Regions from separate parts of the Homo sapiens genome. Here regions 2 and 3 are each linked to region 1. The links are contacts of gene promoters, found by promoter capture Hi-C in blood cells and fetal thymus (Javierre and others, 2016). All regions are on one chromosome and are shown on one strand. Each heading gives the region's core, a stretch centred on a gene start or on the middle of the fragment in contact. The rest is flanking DNA. Distances are from core to core; before and after follow the strand shown. Region 1 holds the start of WDPCP (WD repeat containing planar cell polarity effector). Region 2 holds the start of USP34 (ubiquitin specific peptidase 34). Region 3 holds the start of PAPOLG (poly(A) polymerase gamma).

The links. Contacts are between HindIII fragments. The CHiCAGO score rates a contact against its expected background, and 5 or more counts as called.
Region 2: a contact is called between the fragment with the promoter of USP34 here and the fragment with the promoter of WDPCP in region 1, in 1 of 17 cell types (monocytes). The highest score is 5.3, in monocytes.
Region 3: the fragment with the promoter of PAPOLG here is called in contact with the fragment with the promoter of WDPCP in region 1 in 2 of 17 cell types (total CD4 T cells and naive CD4 T cells); the score reaches 6.5 in total CD4 T cells.

Annotation. Positions count from the first base shown.
Region 1 is chr2:63,586,973-63,590,736 of GRCh38, reverse strand. It overlaps WDPCP (WD repeat containing planar cell polarity effector), which reads left to right and starts at 2,260. Exons shown (of 18, transcript NM_015910.7): 1 at 2,260-2,540. The coding sequence starts at 2,466. MDH1 (malate dehydrogenase 1) reads right to left here and starts at 1,774. Exons shown (of 9, transcript NM_005917.4): 1 at 1,691-1,774. The coding sequence starts at 1,693. RefSeq lists enhancers at 1,744-2,063, 2,575-3,095. The HindIII fragment of the contact is 5,833 bases long and covers 1-3,081 here.
Region 2 is chr2:61,469,062-61,473,123 of GRCh38, reverse strand. It overlaps USP34 (ubiquitin specific peptidase 34), which reads left to right and starts at 2,037. Exons shown (of 80, transcript NM_014709.4): 1 at 2,037-2,474. The coding sequence starts at 2,432. It overlaps USP34-DT (USP34 divergent transcript), which reads right to left and starts at 2,028. Exons shown (of 3, transcript NR_185882.1): 1 at 1,745-2,028. RefSeq lists silencers at 1,786-2,095, 2,126-2,205, 2,296-2,715. The HindIII fragment of the contact is 6,929 bases long and covers 1,158-4,062 here.
Region 3 is chr2:60,754,564-60,758,838 of GRCh38, reverse strand. PAPOLG (poly(A) polymerase gamma) reads right to left here and starts at 2,571. Exons shown (of 22, transcript NM_022894.4): 1 at 2,344-2,571. The coding sequence starts at 2,360. RefSeq lists an enhancer at 2,346-2,655. The HindIII fragment of the contact is 3,911 bases long and covers 1-3,018 here.

The DNA.
Region 1 (3,764 bases), core at 1,011-3,510:
AGTGACCTTCCAACGGTGGGGCCTTGCTAGGGAAACTAGCTAAGAATCTGGGGCCCAAAATCTCTGTGACCTTGGGAAAATTATCTGACCTCACCAGACTACATTATAAGAGTAGATAATATAATCTCCAAATTCCCTTTTAATTCTACAATTCCAGTATTTTGAATGGCAAGGAATAAAGCTATCAAGTAATCTACATGCTGATAACATATTTGAGTTTGTATATGCAGTATGAACTGGTAACTTCATCCGGAATCTCAGCTAGTAAAAATAAGTTTTCAGGGAGTTGAGTACACTGTCTCTCCCCCGCTGCGAGACCTCACTGCGGTGGTCCCTATAAAAATAAAAATTCAGAAAGACTTGGTAAGTGTAAGACACAATATAGAAAAATGGCAAGAGTGTGAGACTCTTGGAGCAAATCACATTCTCTTTGGGTCTCGATAAACTCCATTTTAAGATCTGAAGTGGGGAGATTCGTCAAGATGACCTTTAAAAGATCCCATTCAGTTCTAAAAGCAAAAAGTCCAAGGTTATCAGATAATAAGTACCTCTGCTTTCTAGCTAAGGTTATTAGGACAGAAACTACCGAAACCATAATTTAAATGACTAATTATGTGACAAAACATTTAGGAAACCTAGGTTTAACACCTACTGGAAATTAGTAGCTGTCTCCACTGGCCCCGTTAGACAGGCAGAGAGAGTAATGCCCTTGCCTTGAAAACGTGTCTTTTCAGGTTCTGGGAAATTTCCAATTCATTCAAACATTTCTCCACATTCTCCAGCCGTTTTAGTATTTTGCAGATAAAGTAGGAAAAACAGTCGCAACTATAAATACAAGCCATTGTATTGATAGTATGAAGCGATTTCTCTGAGTTTGATGACAAATGTCACCTTCAAGCAGTACGCAGATTATTCCTACGCCAGAGTTCCTTCACCAACTCTCCCCCTCCCCCTCTCTTTCAGCAGAGACAAGCGATGGAGATGCAGGTTACCCAGGTCTTCCATGACAAAATGGTTACTCTGTTACATTTAAGAGAGGTGCTTCTGGAATTCACAATATACAGTTCAATAAAGAATATTTGCAGTAGTTATTTAGTTAGTGATGCTGTCACTTCAATATATCCTGGCATTACAAAAAAGGTCAATGAACGGGTTCCAAATAACATTTTGAGAAATTAGATATGGCGGAAACACGTCTGCTGCAAACGCAGATCGTAATCTGGAGCACCTGGTAAATACTACCTTTCCAGCTTTTTGCTTTCAAGGTCCCTGTGACAAAAGCCGTTATAAACACTGTGGGCAAATGAGGAGAAAAAGGGGTTAGGACCCAACCTTTCCCTCCCATCGCAAACCTTATCGTCCTTATCAAACACCGTAACGTCCTTTGGAAAATAGCTGCAGCGTCGCATTTTGTCCTCCCGTCATGCAGCAGGATTAAGATCGCTCCTCTCCCAGGACAACTACTTCTCCAGAGTCCTCCTAAGAGCGCCCCATACCCCGCAAGGTGGAAATCAATCCCTTCCCATTACTGGGTCACTGCGGCAATCCCCAGAAGATGAGTCCGAGCTTGCCAAAGGGCGCGAAGGACAGTGCCTTGCACAGCTGCCTCCCAAAAGTCCCTAAAGTGCAAGAAACCCCACTCAAGGGCGCGAGGGCCAGAGGTGGGCAGGAACCCGGGGCCCACACTCACCATGATTGAAAACTGCGGGGACAATTTCAACAACTGCAAAATGAGCCTCAGAGAGTCAGGTCACCTCTACCGCGGAACTGACTCGGAGAGGGCGAGCGGTGTTAGCGAGAAAAGGCTCCGCTCCCGACGCGGCGCTCTCTGGGAACTGTAGTTTACGCTGCCCTGGTTGTGGCGCAATCTCCAAAGCATTTCCTTCAAGTGTTGAACTACACTTCCCGATACCAGAGGTTTTTTTCAAGCTCTTCTCACTGCGCTCTGCGCCGATTGCAAAGTAGTCCCTGAGGATGAGCCCCTGTGATTGGAGGACGACAACAAACGGATGGTTTGGGCTCAGGAGGAAAGGACCTGCCTGATGGAGCCCGGCAATTGGCGGGAGAGATAGCGTGTGTAACTCTAGGGAGGGGAGAATCACCCCTTAGCGACATCACCCCCACGCGCGTGACTGAGACTGCATCCTCCCATGAGGGTAAACGTGGGAGGTAAAGAGACCTTCCGCTGCGTAAAGCTGGATCGACCCGGAAACAAAATCTTTTAAAAAACGATTGACACTCTGGAGGGGCGGGGGAATTGATAAGTTGGGACGACCGGACAGCTTCTCAGGTTGCTAAGCGACGAGGCGGGAGCGCACGCACACCCTGGCTGCTTTGTAGCACCTGAGGAAACTGTGGCGGCGGCGGCGGCGTCCTGGAGACCCAAGAGACCAAGCGAGCGTGTCGCTCCCTCTCGGGTCCGAGGACCTAGCCTAGGAACCTTCTGCCCGGGGTAGTGTCTGGTGATGAGGCGAGAGTTTTGCTGGGACGCCTACTCCAAAGCGGCCGGGAGTCGCGCTTCTTCCCCACTCCCGAGACAGGTGAGCCCTGGCCCGAGGGCAAGGGGTTTTCTTTTAACCTTAGGATCCGGAATGCGGTTGGTGCGCCGTCCCGCTTTGCTTTTATCCGCTGTGCGGATGCCTGCAAGCTCGCCGGTCCCTTTTCTGAGCGGAGTATGAGGGCTGTGGGAATGCAGCTATTTTGGAGGGGGTGGTGCCCTGGAGTAGGTGCACCCCCGACCCCAAATGGAGCTCTTCCAGAGTTATATCAAAAATATTTATTGAGCATTTACTTTGTAGGAGGTGAGCCTCTCCCTTCCAGGAGGTCACAGTATACGGTTCTAATTTGCTCTAAGCCCTCCGTGAATGTTGAGTTTTGTCCATTCCCTTTTGGAAGAAACAGGATGCGCCTTAAACCATCTTGAGTCTTAAAGTTATGCCAAACAGGCATTTCTAAGGAAAGACTGGCGACTGAAGGGGAGACACTGGTTGTTTAGTCAGTCAGTCTCAGCTGGTAAAACAACTTAAGAGGTTCTCTTTAAAATTAATGCTGCCAAGAGAATTGCTGTGCTTTTTGAAAGCTTGTTTCTTGTGGATGTTAAAAGGAAGATATGATGCTCGGGAGTAGCATACACAGCATATACGTAATGAAAATGAATAAAACATCTCTATTAGATAACATTGTTAGAACTTCCGTTTTTTCTCTGTCACTGATAAATGAATGCCAAGTAATATCTTTCAATTTTTCTCTATTTCAGTTTGGAGGATTTGCTATTTTTGGAAAGAAATGTAATGCTTTACTTTTAGCATTTATTAATATCATACCTGAATGACTCTCCTTGTATCTCTTTATTCATTTGGCTCTCAGACAACATACTTTCCTGGTTTTCCTCTTTTGTTACTGGTTCTCAGTTCTGCGGAGTTTCTAAATTTTTTTTAGTTGTGATCTCTTAACATTGGGGTGCCTGTATTCTCTGTCTATACTAAATCCCTCAGTGAGCTAATTCATAAGTTGCATCACTTCAAATGCTACTTTTAATGTCAAAAACTCTCAAATTTATGTGTCTAGTCCTGAATTAGTAGGTGTGCATTATTCTCAAACCTAGGTTCTCTGAGTTTTACTTTTTACTCTGAGCAGTTACGAAAAATTTCTTCCATTATCCTCCTAAATGAATTCTTCTACTAGCTGCTAACAGAAAGATTTTTCCATGTTGTTGTCCTTAAAAATATCATGATTTTACCTAATGTAAATGACGAGTTAATGGG
Region 2 (4,062 bases), core at 788-3,287, 2.1 Mb after region 1:
GTGCAATGGCGCGATCTCGGCTCACCGCAACCCCTGCCTCCCGGGTTCAAGCGATTCTCCTGCCTCAGCCTCCTGAGTAGCTGGGATTACAGGCATGCACCACCATGCCTAATTTTGTATTTTTAGCAGAGATGAGCTTTGTCCATGTTGGTCAGGCCGGTCTAGAGCTCCCGACCTCAGGTGATTTGCTCACCTCAGCCTCCCTAAGTGCGGGATTTCAGGAGTGAGCCAACGCGCCCAGCCACCTTTTAAATTTTTGTAGACACAGGGCTCCCACTATGTTTCTCAGGATTGTTGCTTACCTTTTATCAGGAGGAACTCAATTATGTATGGCCAGCCCTAGAAAAGCCAGATCACCATGATGGTTGGTTTCAACTGCTACCTGAAAAAACGTGAGACCAGCACGTTGGCTCATACCTGTAATCCTAACATTTTGGGCCGGAGGATCAGTTGAGGCCAGGAGTTTGAGACCAGCCTGGGTAACATAGCAAGACCCTGTCCCTACTAAAAATAAAAAACAATTAGTTACGTGTGGTGGAGAGCGCCTGTAGCCCCAGCTACTAGGGAAGTGGGAGGATCCCTTGAGCCCATAAAGTGGAGGCTGTAGTGAACTGTGATCGCACCACTGCACTCTAACCTTGGCGACAGAGTGAGACTTTGTCTCAAAAAAAAAAAATTCAAATAAAAATAATTGGGGTTGTGTTGGCAGGGAAAAAAGGGATACGTGGGAATGTATGTTGAGTGGACAACGAATGTCTGCCTCAGGATCCAAAGTAAGTCTGCAAAAACCCAATTCTGTGAGAAAGACAAGGAAGAAGGGAAGATGATGGTAGAATAGAACTACAATCCTAAGGATCACCTGCTAGTGGGAAACAAAACGGGTTGGGCAGACTGTTTATAGTATCAACTTCAAGCAGCAGAAAGGCAAAGCATTTGGAACCAGGTGGTTCTGGCATGGAGAGATGGGCGTGCCATAACCTCCACAAAAGCTATCGAGAGAATGACTACAGAGCCTTGACAGACACTCTGGTTACCGTTCAGAGATTCTGTACACGATCTTTCGGACTTTGCAGTCACATGTCTATGTAAACACGTTGAACACAAAAATTAGCAAGCAAGGGGTAAGTGCCGGCGTGAGGAAAATTCCCTTACAAGCTTCAGCTGACTGCCCCCTTCACCTGTTCTTTATCTTAATATCCTTGTTATTCGCTCTCTGCTGAAGAAGATTTCTTGCTATTTCAGGTGGGGCTGATGGGCACATCGTGAGGGGCCCTCTTCCGTAAAAACGAGACGATGTCAGGCAAACACTCCTTACCCTGCCATTTCTAGTTACGTCAAGGATCTTACTGCTCCAGGACGGAGGACCTTCAAGGAACTGCAGGGTAGCGATAATCACCGATGCAGTTAAGCCGGGCCCTGGGCTGATTCACTCTCAGACCCCGGGGGGAGTGGCCCTTGCGCCCGAAAGAGGGCTACGGCGTAGACCCGGCCCGGCACCCAAGTTGACTCCTTGCTTCCCGTACCCCAAAAGCCTAAGCGCGGAAGAGGCCGGGGACACCAAAGAAACCCGCACCAACTCCCCGACCCAGGCCCTGGGGAAAAATGGCGAAGCCCAGGGGCGGGGGACAGGACGGAGCGAGTGACCTGGCGCTCCCCGGGCCTCAGAGCCCGTGGAGTGGGTCGTGGTGGGCGACGCCACGCAACCGCGACCCGTCCGTTGCCTCCGCCATCTTCTCCTACTCACCCGGACTCCCCCCGCGGCCGCGCTGGCTTCGCGTTTCCCTTCCGGCCGCTGACAGAGATCCGGGCTGGGCGGGGTGGGCGAGCGCGCGGAGGGGGTGGACCGAGGGCGGGGAGGCCGGACGGAAGAGGAAAGGGAGGGCGGCGAGCCGGCCACGGCGGGGTGTGGAGCGTGCGGCGTGTGTGCGGAGGGAGAGGTGGGGGGCGGAGGAGAGGCGAGAAAGGGAGGGAGGCGGAGGAATGAGAGCGCGAGGCGCCTCTCGTCCGCTCCTAAGCCCGGGCGGAAAGAGCCGAGCGCAGCCCGAGCGCTCTGTTAAAATGGCGGCGGCGTCGGCGGTGGCCGCGGCGTCTGGTCGGTGAAGTGACTCTGCTGCTTCTCTCCCCACCCGCCCCCTCCCCCCCTCTCCCCTCCCCCCGTCCTTCCCCCCCTTCCCCGCCGCCGGCGCCTCGGCGCCCCTCCGGCCTGCGCACCTCCCCTCGCTCCCCTCCTCTCCCCCTCCCGCTGCGGGGACCGCCGGCCCCCTCCCCCATTCTCTTGCTCCCCGCCCCGTCCCCGCCGCCGCCCGCCCTAGTCGCCTCCCCGCCCCGCCGGCCGGCCGGCCCCCTCCTCCGCCTCTCTCCCCTCCCCCCCGCCGGTCGGGATCAGTCAGTGTGATCCGAAGCGGGGGAGGGGGGGGGCGGCGGCCGAACGATGTGCGAGAACTGCGCAGACCTGGTGGAGGTGTTAAATGAAAGTAAGTAGCCGCGGTAGCGGCCTGTCGGGGTGCACGGTTTGGGGTCCTCGCGCAGCTCTCTGGCCTCCCCGGGCTGCCGCGGCCTGCGGGAGGCGACGGCCGGGCCGGGCGGCGTGCGGGCCTAGCGCCCCGGGAAGGTGCGCGGTGGCGCGGCCGCCGCGGCGCCTCGGGCCCAGCCCGGCCGGGTTACCTGGGCGCCCGAGAGGCGGCCGCCGCGGAGCTCCGGCTCGGCCTGGCCCGGGCGCTCTGGGCTCTCGGAAAGTTTCCTCATTACAGGTGTCAATTAATGAAGGCAGTAATGAACCCCTCGCCGCCTTCGCCTCCTTCGCCCTGCCGGGAAGGTGCGGGGAGGTGGGGTCGGAGGACGAGGCTTTCCTCCGCAGTCCAAATCCTCCGGCCGCCCTCTTTGATTTCCAGCGTGCTGCCGAGGCCTCTCTTACCTGCTAATTTTCATTAAACTCCCGGGAGCAGGGTGGTGGTTTTTCCCTCCCTTGCGGGTTTGTGGGTGTCTTAAACACTTCAGCCAGACCTTAAATAGCTGAAAACGAACTGTGATAGTGATGATTGGAACCTTCATACCTATTTTTAAAATAAATTTGTTAATGATGTTTCTTAGTGTAGCATTCACCGCTTTAATGGTACATTCTGTTAAGCAGAGCACTGTACTACACATACCATCCCGGGATAGTTATGGCCTATCTCTCTTGGAAGGAAAGGCCTTTTACCTGGTACTTTACTTTTTATTATTAAAAAGGGTACGTTGATCTTTTCTGGCCTTTTTATTTTATTCTCGACCCTTGCAAGATGGTATTTCAGCTTATAGAAGATATATTGCAAATCAACTACTTCTGGGCGTAAAGGCCTAGTTGGCAGAGGTGAATTAGATGAAGGGATCAATTTACAAAAAGTTGATTGTTGAAAAAATGCTCACTTATGAACAGTTTATGTGGGTTTTGGATTTGTATTCTGTTTGTGATATTTCCACAGACTTTCAGACTATCTAATTTTGTAATACAATTCGCTAAAACAGTTGATTTATAAAATGTACCATGGTATTTGTGTTTGACTGTCACTTTAATGACCAAAGACAATAATAAAAGTGGAAGGGTTCTAACTTAATTTCAACTCCGTATTTACTTCCTGATAGGTGGAATAGGCTTTTGCACATATTCCAACTAGAGGTTCCAGTATTTGTGTCACCCTAAATTATCCTAGAATTTTAAGATTATTTGTGTGTATTTTGAGATACTTTTATTTCTGGCGCAGGCGGTTTACGATATGATAAACTTAAATCCTCAATACTTACTGTGTTTTATATCTCACATACAAGTCGTGTGATTATGATTGTTACGCTCAACTTGGAAAGTTAATCGTTTTGCAATGTAATATGAGGAACAAGTACTTAATTTTGTTGGTGATTTTAAATATCTTTTTTTTTTCTTGAGACAGAGTTTTGCTCTTGTTGCCCAAGCTGGAGGGCAATGGCATGATCTCGGCTCACTGCAAACTCTGCCTCCCAGGTTCAAGCGATTCTCCTGCCTCAGCCTCCCAAGTAGCTGGAAATGTAGGTTCCCCACACCATGCCCGG
Region 3 (4,275 bases), core at 1,322-3,821, 2.8 Mb after region 1:
ACAATAGAGATTGTTTAATTGTTTTTGGATTCTAACTGGTCAAAACACTGTCTTACCACTACTAAGTACACAGAGTAAGACACGCTGTAATAGCTAAAGATCTCATTAGAGGCCGGGCGTGGTGCCTCATGCCTGTAATCCCAGTACTCTGGGAGGCCAAGGCAGGTGGATTACTTGAGGTCAGAAGTTCAAGATCAGCCTGGCCAACATGGTGAAACCCCGTCTCTACTGAAAATACAAAAAATTAGCTGGGCATGGTGGCGGACGTCTGTAATCCCGGCTACTCGGGAGGCTGAGGCAGGAGATTCGCTTGAACCCAGGAGACGAAGGTTGCAGTGAACCAAGATCGCGCCACCACACTCCAGCCTGGGCAACAAGAGCGAAACTCCGTCTCAAAAAAAAAAAAAAAAAAAAAATCTCATTAGGCAGAGAGGGAGAAAGAATCAAATGGAAGATAAAATAGCCTGTATACCTTCCAAAATGACTCAAAAAAAAAAAAAAAAAAAAAAACCCCAGAAACCAAAATACTGGTTAATTTATCTTCTGTATTTATTTTGTTGTAGAACAAACAAAACTTCAATTAGTTATTTCAAGTGGTAATTTCTTTTTAAAGATTTGGCTTTTTACCTCTGAGAAAGCTAGAGCAGTGTTTTGGTATTGTTTGTGTAATACATATGTAAATATATACGGTAAGTGAATAGGACAGAGTAATTATCTACATATCTATATAGTATCACTCAATCGCAATAATCCTAAGGGGTATTGAATAAGTGCCATTTTACAGATAAGTACCTGAAAGTCAAAGAGAGGACAAGCCAGAATCTGAACTCCAAAACCTCTTTCCACTACTCCATTCTCTCCTCTCTAACTACTTCAGCTCTGACACCATGATGACGGGCCTCACTTTTTTACCTGTATGCTGACAAAGTTGGCCAACTAGCCTACTGGCCCTAAAATTCCAAATCCAGGTTCTGAACTTCCCCCATCTAGAGGGGAGGGGAAAGTAAACAACAGAATCCCACATTCCCTTCAAACCATCAATTTCACTTACAGGCAAACAACCTAGAGAAATTCTAGTTACAAGCGTACAAAGAGACACCTAAAAGAACGTTCACTGTCACATTGTAACATTAAAAACTTAGAAATAAAATAGTCACTAACAGGAAAAGAATTAAATTAGGGTGTTTTCCTACAATAGAATACAATACAATAATTAATATTAATTAATTACAACTAAAATACTAACATGAACAAAGCTCAGAGATACTATGTTGTGCTAAAGAAGTTACAGAATTCCAAGTGTGATACGAGTTATATAAAGTTTAAAAACAACTAGAACTATGCCAGTTATTATGAACACATGTGTATGTAGTAATAGCATTAAAAAACATGCAGCTCCCATGATTCGAGGGCGGAAAAAAAAGAAGTAAAATAAAAAACAGGCAGCAACGATAAACATCAAATTCAAGACTGTGGAGACATCTGGAGCAAGAGATGATTGGGACCAGAGAAGGAGGTAGGAGAGTCCTTCAGATGTATCTGGAATGCTTGATTTCTTTTTAAAATAAATACACAGATACGTATATACACACCGTGTGTGTGCGTGTGTGCATGTACGTGTATGTGTGTACAGTTACGTTTTGGGAGAAATGGGTGGTGGCTCCACAAATGATGCTTATGTTATTCTCTACATTTTTCTGCATGTTTAAATTATTTCCTAATAGACCAAAATGGAAGAAGCTACAACAAAATCTTGCCAAGTACGGGAACTGTTTCTGACTTATCAAAGTGTGAACAAGAGGTACAGACCGGTAGATGTTGTGGGTAGGTGGGGAAGCAGGGGGTGAGGGAGAGGGTGGGGACGGCGGTGAAAAGACTGTAGCCTCATATGAAAGAGAAACCCTTGGGCTGCGATAGGTCTTTCACTCCTGAAGACCTGGAGACAGCCGGTCGGGAAGGGAGGAGGGGGAGGCAGGGGGATGGTATTTGCGCCAATGCAGACAGGAGCAGACGGGCTCAGACAGTGCTGGGGGCAGGCGAGTGACCGACAATTTCTCCCTACGGACACAGGCACCTCTTTCCCTCCTCATCCTTTTCTGAGGGCGTCCTCGGAGGCGGGACAGCTGGGGACTCCCGGAGTCCCCGAGTCCGTGCAGGGGTGGCCAGGTGAGCCGCCGGGTTTAGGGGAGGTGCCCTTGCGGACCGGCCGGGAGCCGGGAAGGAGACCATCCCGGCGAGCTGCGTGCAGGGCGCAAGGGACAGGGAACGGAAACAAGGACACAGTCGGACCACCTCAGCTCACCCCTACCCGCCTCACCCCAACCGCCGCCCCCCACCACTTACGCAGACATCTCTTTCATCGCTTCCTGCGTCTCCCTCTCCAGCGAGTGTTTATCGCTCTGGAGTCCTGTTCTTGCTGTTCCCTTCTCCCCCTGTTCACTTTCCTCCGGTCGCTAGTAGCTCGCTTGCTCGCTCACTTTCCCACTTACTATGGCTGAGGCATCCAACCGAGTAGTGAAAACACCACAAAACCGGCTCTATTTATGACAATACAGCGCGGCCGACGCCAATATGGCGCCGCTTCCCAGCCTGCCTCTCGCAGGTCTCAGCCCCGCCCCTGGAGGTCTGGACCACCCTCAGCCACGCCCCCTCTGCCTTTAGGTCCCGGGAGGCTCCGGGGCCCCGCCCACAAGCTCAGGGCTCTCAGTATACCGTTGGTTCGAAGGAGTATTTATTTGGTACTCTCCTTTGTCCGCGGTACTGTCAATGCCGGTAGACCGCTTGGAAGGAAATTTGGAGATATGTTTTCCTTGCCTCTCGAATGGCAGCATATATCATACATTTTTTAAAAAGGTCACACCCTTGCCTAGCAAAAACTATTTCAACGCCTCCGTTATCCTACATCTTTGATTTAATTATAGTTATACATAATTAACTCACCAGTTGAGATTTTGTCTCGAAAGGGTCACACCCAGGAACATACGACTTTCACACAAGTATCCCAGGGAAAAACAAGCTTGTAAATTGGAGGCTTAACTGTTCACTTCACCCCTAAGTACCACCTTTGATTAGTGACATTCTGGCATTTAGCTGACAGAGGTTGAAAATAGTAGCTAGCAGTTTGCAATAGGATAAATCCCAGGCTGAAACAAAAATCTTACACTTTTAAATAGTGGAAATCATGTTCGATGTGAGTGTGGGGATGAAAATGAGAAAATAATAACCAATTTTAAAATGCTGAAAGGTAGAAGTAATTTCAAGCACTAAATCATTACAAAGAAAAGGAAGTCAAGAACTGCTTGCTCTTGAACATAACTCAGAGTCACAGTAAATAGAGGAGATTACTTGCTGATTAATTCATTAAAAAATATTTATTGAGGCAAGATACAGTGGCTCACACCTGTAATCCCAGCACTTTGGGAGGCCAAGGTGGGAGAATTGCTTGAGGCCAGGAGTTCGAGAACAGCCTGGGCAACATAGTGAGACCCTGTCACTACAAAAAGTTTTAAAAAAATTAGCTGGGCATGGTGGCCCATGCCTGTAGTCCCAGCTACTCAGGAGGCTGGGGTGGGAGGATCTCTTTGAGTCCAGGACGTGGAGGCTGCAGGAAACCAGGATGGCACCACTGCATTCCAGCCAGAGTGATAGAAGGAGACCCTGTCTCAAAAAAATAAATAAATAAATAAATAAATAAAAACTACAAAACATATTTTTGAAAACCTGAGCAAGGTGCAGTGGCTCTTGCCTGCAATCCCAGTGCTTTGTGACGCCAAGGCTGGTGGATCACTTGAGGCCATGAGTTCTATTAAGACCAGCCTGGCCAACATGGCAAAAACCCATCTCTACTTAAAAGCAACAACAAAAACCTGACGTGGCCTGGTGTGGTGGATCACACCTGTAATCCTAACATTTTGGGAGGCTGAGGCGGGTGGATCACTTGAGGTCAGGAGTTCGAGACCAGCCTGGCCAACATGGTGAAACCCCATCTCTACTAAAAATAGAAAAACTAGCTGGGTGCGTGGTGCGCCTGTGATCCCGGCTACTCAGCAGGGTGAGGCAGGAGAATTGCGTGAACCCGAGAGGCAGAGGTTTTTTTGAGATGGAGTCTCGCTCTGTTGCCCAGGCTGGGGTGCAGTGGCGTGATCTCTGCTCAGCCTCCTGAGTAGGTGGGATTACAGGCATGCACCACCACGTCCAGCTATATTTTTGTATTTTTAGTACAGACGGGGTTTCACCATGTGGGCCAGCTAGTCTCAAACTCCTGACATCAGGTAA